Regions from separate parts of the Homo sapiens genome. Here region 1 is linked to region 2. The links are contacts of gene promoters, found by promoter capture Hi-C in human tissues and cell types (Jung and others, 2019). All regions are on one chromosome and are shown on one strand. The core of a region is centred on a gene start or on the middle of the fragment in contact, and the rest is flanking DNA. Distances in the headings are between cores, read along the strand shown. Region 1 holds the start of CATSPER4 (cation channel sperm associated 4). Region 2 has its middle 8.5 kb from the start of PDIK1L.

Region 1 (3,161 bases), core at 527-3,026, 87 kb before region 2:
CCTCAGGTGATCCACCCACTTTGGCCTGCCAAAGTGTTGGGATTACAGGCATGAACCACTGCGCCTGGCTCAAAAACATTTTTTTAATTAGGCATGGTAGCTCGTGCCTGTAGTCCTAGCTACTTGGGAGGCTGAGGCAGGAGGATCACTTGAGTCCAGGAGTTCAAGGCTGCATTGAGCCAAGATGGCGCCACTGCACACCAGCCTGGGTGACAGAGTGAGACCTTGTCTCTAAAAAAAAAAAAAAAGAAATTAAAACATCAAGGATAAGTCACACTAAACTTCAAGTTGGACACAGAGAAGTCTCTCACATGCTGTTTCTTTTCCCCAAAAAGTCTCCCCCACCTCTCTTTGCCTGGCCAACTCCTACGTGCTCTTTTTTTCTGTTTCTTTGTTGTGGTGACTGAGATCACATCCTACTTCTTTACTCTCAGCTCCAGTGTCACTTTCTCCAGGAAGCCAGCTCTGACCCCTGAGATTAGGTTCGAGTGCCTTCGTTGAGCCTCCATGTACTCTGGGTGCTACTTGAGCACTTGTAATGACAGTTTCTGTGTGTCTGAGACAGGACCCAGTTGTGCTTATTATCCCTGGGACCCTGGCAGTCTGCACAGTCAGTGCCTGGCACTGAGTGATTCTCCCTTAGTGACTGCTGGTTAGAATTGGATACCCCTTCTCCACAAGGCACCCATTTGCCTCCCTCTGCTCACACCATTCTTCTCCTGTCCCTCCTGTACAAATCCAATGCATTCCTCAAAGCCAGGCTGCAGAGCCCTCTCCATCATGAAGTCTTCCTTGATCTCCAGATTCCTAGAAGGTCAGAGCTGACAGACCCTTGAAGAGCATCCAATCCAACCATCATAGACAGATGAGGAGCCTGAGGCCGGAAGAGTTCTTGCCCCAGGCCCCCCATTAGGGTTAGTGGGGCAGAGGTCATGCTGGCATCCCACCTGGTCCAGGTAGGAGTTGGTACGGAGAGCGATGGTGATGGCATTGATCACCAGCAGCAGGGCCAGCAGCAGTTGGAAGGCGGGGTGTCGGAGCAGCTGCTTGATGTACATGTGAGTGATGAACTCCTGCATGTCCCAGGCGTCCTGGAAGAGGGCAGGACCTTCCTTCAGGCAGGTGTCACCATAGGAAGCCTCTGCCTGGGGGTTTGCTCTTAGAGAATGGGGGTTCCTGGGGCCCACTCTAGAGGGGGGAAATCATCTGAGAGTGGATCATGGAATGGAGACATCAGTGTAGAGATCACTATCTAAATGGCCACTAAAAGTGGGTTACTATCGGGGGATTTTGTGGAAGTCATTGCCAGAGAATCTCTTTGGGCTCTCTGATAGTGAAGATGATCGTTATATAAGGGTTCCTATGGGGGGCATTGCCAGAGAGTTACTAACATATCATGGGCAGTCACTCAGGGATCAGTGCTAGGGAGGGTCTTCTGGGGGCGTTTAGAGGGTAGAGGGGCAGAGTTACCATGAGGGCCTGCTGCCCATGAGCACAGCTGCAGAAGGGGCCACTGTGGGGCGAGAGCTATCCTTACCGCTTTGTTCGTGATTTCCTGGCGGTTGATGAGCACTTGCTCCTCTGGCCGACCGTAGGACTCGTGAATGGTACTCTGCAGGGGAGAGGGGCGGCCCCTCAGTGCAGCTACTGCCCCTCCAAACCCCATACGGTCCTCCTGAGTCCCGCCCCACCCCTCGAGGCCTGTATGGGAGGTCCATTGCTGCCACCAGGCCTTTTCATTATCCCTCATGTTTGCTCAGTCTCTTCCTTCTCCTCAAAGAATCTTCACTCCAAGTGGTCTCACTCCCCCTCGTGGTGATATCACAGAGGCCTCTGTGACCTCCAGCCGTCTGCATTCTACTGAGGAATTCCAACCTGGAGAGAAGCTCCTCCCATTGGCCCTCCTCCGCATCCCACAGAGGAAGTCTGGGGATGCTGTGGGGATGCTGGGCTGGGGTTGGAAGTCAGAGGCTGATGGGAGCAGGTCAGATTTCCCGTGCAGCCTGAATGGAGTCACAGGGACATGTCCCTGCCTTGGATCCAGGAGGTGGAGGTGAGGCTGGAATGAGGAGTGAAGGAGAGAAGTGTTTTCCCCAGGGCCTTCCCAGGGCAGACCTCAACCTGCACCCTTCCCCACCAGCTGCCCTGTCCTACCAGCCCAGTCTCCAGGACTGTCCCCACCACCTTTCCGTGCAAAGTGCATTTCCCCATCTACAAAGTGGAAGTTTCTCATTGTGTGCCCCCCGGGAATGGGGTAGGAGATCACCATTAGCCTTCAAAGAGCTGGGGAGAGGTGGACATGAGTCGGAGCCCTCATTAGCCATGGGTCATCCCCCACCATCCTGGCAGGCTTGGAGCTCGGGTACAGAGCCCAGGCCAACGGGCTGCACGAAGGGTCTGCCACCCACCCTCTGGCCAAGAGCACTCACCCCAGTCCCCACAGGGGGGCAGATTTCCAATTCGAATATGGAAGTAAAGTTACATGTAGACTCATTCTTAGAAAAATTGACTTTATTTGGTTGGAAAGTAGCCCTCATGTAAAATAAAGAACACCTGTACAGACCTGGTTTGGGGGAGAACTGCCAAGGAACTGGAGGGGCAGGGCTGTGGCCCCAGAGGTTGGAGGATTTGGGGGGAGAGTTTCTTCTTTGGCAAGGGAGAGGGTGGCACAAAGCCCAGGCAGAGGGGTCAGCTCGGGGTGAGACCATGACTAGCAGTACTACTTCCCACCCTGAACAGAATCCAGGGATGCTCTGTCCTGGACACGTCAGAAGCTGGGGTTGAGGTGGCCCTCGGGTCAAAGGTCAGGAGCTAGAGTGCTGGCCAGGGTCAGAGGTCAGGAGGTCGGAGGCTGCTCTCTGAGGTCAGGGGGCAGAGATGGGAGTGCTCTTCAGGGTCAGAGGGCAGGGAGTGGGGGGACTGTTCTGTGGAGTCAGAGGTCAAGATGTGGGAGCTGCCTTCAGCCTGTGCCACTCCCCAGGCCCCCAGGCCCTCTGAGTACAGCTCCCGGTTCTGCTCCTTCCACTGGCGGAACTTCTCTCCTGTCAGCTCAGGGTCACCCAGCACTTCTTCTAGGACCTGCAGCTCCTGCAGCTTTGCCTGTGTGGAGAGGAGGGGCTAAGGGACCATGATCACCCAGGGAAGTGGGCAGAGCCCGAGGC
Region 2 (3,156 bases), core at 229-2,728:
TGGAGTCTTTGGACTCCAGGTCCCCAGCCCCATAAATCAACATGAATCTGAGCCTTACTTTTCCTATCTGAAGAGAGGTCACATGGGAAGAGGCAAATGGGCTGTCCCTAATTAGAATGGGTCCACAGGAAGCAGATTATCATGGAGCAATTTTACCTATAAACTATAGATAAATAAATACAAATCGGTAATATAAATAAATAATAGGTAATATTCATACTAACTTCTGTGCGAGGCACTGTGCAAAGTACTGTTTATAGAGTGATCTCATCTAATCTGCACAGTGACCCTGTAAAGCATGTGCTATTATTGTCCTCCCTTTTACAACTGAGGAAACAAAGGTTCTAAGAGGTGAAAGAACTTGTCCAAAGTCACACAGGCACTTCAATTGGGGTCTAACTGCGTGTGTGTGTGTGTGTGTGTGTGTGTGTGTGTGTGTGTGTTTGAGATGGAGTCTCGCTCTGTCCCCCAGGCTGGAGTGCAGTGGCACAATCTTGGCTTACTGCAACCTCCGCCTCCTGGGTTCAAGCGATTCTCCCACCTCAGCCCCCTGAGTAGCTGGAATTACAGGCGCCCGAGTAGCTGGAATACAGGCGCATGCCACCACTCCTGGCTCATTTTTGTATTTTTAGTAGAGATGGGGTTTCACCATGTTGGCCAGGCTAGCCTTGAACCCCTGGCTTTAAGTGATCTGCCCGCCTTGGCCTCCCAAAGTGCTGGGATTTCAGGCATGAGCCACCATGCCCGGTTGTGTGTGTGTGTGTTTTAAAAGACTTTATTTTTAGAGAAGTTTTAGGTTCACAGTGAAGTTGAGTGGAAATTACAGACTTCCCATATACACCCTGTCCCCAAGGCACATCTTGGAGTCTTTCTTCCCACCAGATTGCTGACCCTGAATTTCTCCTCTGGAGAAATTATGAGAGGCATCATTGATGCATTGTTAGAGACCTAGTACCCACTGAGCCAACCACAAGTTGTTATCAAAATGCCACAATGAGGTCATTAAGGGCGACTGGCTAGGCCTGTCAGTGAATGTTTCCGGAGCAGCTCCTAACTGCTGTAGCAGAGAGAATCCCCGACAGTGTCCCCTCCCTTCTTCTTCCCAAGCTTGGGGAGCCCCAGCCCCATTTCTTTTCTTTTCTTTTCTTTTTTTTTTTTTTTTTTGAGATGGAGTCTTGCTCTGTTGCCTAGGCTCGAGTGCAATGGCACAATCTTGGCTCACTGCAACCTCTGCCTCCTGGGTTCAAGCGATTCTCCTGCCTGAGCCTCCTGCGTAGCTAGGATCATAGGCATGCGCCACCATGCCTGGCTAATTTTTGTATTTTTGATAGAGATGGGGTTTTGCCATATTGGCCAGGCTGGTCTCGAACTCCTGACCTCAGGTGATCCACCCACCTCGGCCTCCCAAAGTGTTGGGATTATAGGCGTGAGCCACTGTGCCCAGCCACCCCAGCCCCATTTCTGCAGGGGGAGGCTGAGGGAGAAACTCCTTTAGGAAGGGTATTAGCTTTGGCACTAACACGCTGTGTCATCTTGAGCAAGAAAGACTCCCCCCTGCTGTGGGCCTCAGTCTCCCCATCTGCAAAATGAGGGGGTCTGACCAGCTCATCTCTAAGGATCCTTATAGCTCCAACACTCTGATTCTTGAATCCTACACCTCCACTATGCTTGTAATAAGAAGATCAAAATGTTTATTTCTGATCCAGCCCCTGAGACAAGTGATCTGGGGGCCCACAAAGGTCTTGCACCAGGTATAACATTAGCTGTTTTTGTCTTTGGATGGGTCCTAGTTGTCTTCTTGGTGAGGACTGAGAACAGCTGGAGCAGCTGATGGTTAAGACCCAGGTTCACATCTCCTGCCCCTGGGTCCAAGAGCTGCTGGGGATGCCACCATCTGAAAACCATGCTGGATGGGGGTGTTGGGAGTGTCCCAAACTGAGGATTCACCCGACTCCTCAGCAGGTCCTGAAGTGTTAAAGCTTCGGCTTCCTCTGATTCTCTGGCCTCTTCTGGATGCTTCATGTTGCAAGAGCAGAAACTCAACTCAAAGTGACTGAAAGGAATGATTGGTACATTTACCTAAGAGAAATGGAGGTGGGAGGGCTAGCTTCGGGAAGGAAGTTTGATTCAGCAGCTCACATGTCACCAAAGACTCTAGTTTCCTCTGTTCTGCCTCCCATGATGCTGCCTTCATCTTAAGGCTGGCTTCCCTTGTGGGCCTCGGGGTCACCAGTGGGAATTCAGCCTTATGAGATCATATCCTGCAGGAATGAGAAAGTCAACTTCTCTATTCCTCAAACAACATTCCTGAAATTAAGTCTTGTTGGACCTGATTGGCTAGGGGCTAGGGAGTAGGGGGTAAGAGATAGGGTTGTGGGCCCCTCCTTGACCAAGCTCTGTGTCCTGAAGGATGGGGCTTACTGGCAGGCTTAAATTCAGAGGCTGGTGGGTGGCTAACAAATGTCTTGACATATACCCCTCTCTTCAGAAGTCAACTAGTGCCTGGCACATGGTGGCACTTTGTTCGTTAAGTCAACAGCTATTTGGTGAATATCCACCACGTGCAAGAAATTGTGCTTGATGCTGAGAAAAAGCAGTGAACAGAAAGATAAGGTCCCTGCCCTCATGGACTTTCTCTGGGAGGGGAGACAGACATATAAATATGCAGACAGTACAATTCAACCAGTGCCAGCTGAGGTTACATAGCCCAGGGGAGGAAATCCAAACTGTGCTTCTGTGGAGGGGAATGGCGGGCAGGAAAGCTTTAGAGAGGAGGTAGCATTTACACTGGGCCTTAAATTTAGCCATTCCACAATGTATTCATATTTCAAAGCATCATGTTGTACATATGAGTAAATAAATACAATTTTTGTCAATTTAAAAAATAAATAGAAATTTGAGGGTCAGAGTGAGACACTCCTTTAAGCTGACATTCTTCAAATATTTGCTCTATGGTTATTTAGAGCAGGGGCTGGGAAGGAGGCACAGATAACCACACTTAGCCTCTCGATGGTCCTGACCTCCTGGACCCTGGACAAACCTGTAGACTCCACAAGGCCCGCTAATTCATGTAGCTGCGAATATTACTTAGGCTGGCCCCTGACCTCCCAGCCCCAAGCCTTATCCACATTTGTCTTCCAACAGTATACAGAACTC

The links. The method cuts DNA at HindIII sites, captures the fragments that hold promoters and counts their contacts. A contact is called where the count stands out against the background at its distance.
Region 1: the fragment with the promoter of CATSPER4 here is called in contact with a fragment that was not itself captured in region 2 in 3 of the 25 tissues and cell types used here (aorta, lymphoblastoid cells and spleen).

Annotation. Positions count from the first base shown.
Region 1 is chr1:26,189,217-26,192,377 of GRCh38, reverse strand. It overlaps CATSPER4 (cation channel sperm associated 4), which reads right to left and starts at 1,776. Exons shown (of 10, transcript NM_198137.2): 1 at 1,538-1,776; 2 at 948-1,091. The coding sequence starts at 1,750. CNKSR1 (connector enhancer of kinase suppressor of Ras 1) reads right to left here. Exons shown (of 21, transcript NM_006314.3): 21 at 2,494-3,099. The coding sequence ends at 2,830. RefSeq lists an enhancer at 1,073-1,890. The HindIII fragment of the contact is 15,004 bases long and covers 1-3,161 here.
Region 2 is chr1:26,101,773-26,104,928 of GRCh38, reverse strand. No RefSeq gene overlaps it. Among named protein-coding and RNA genes, the nearest start is that of PDIK1L, 8.5 kb to the left of the region's middle. The HindIII fragment of the contact is 4,487 bases long and covers 1-3,156 here.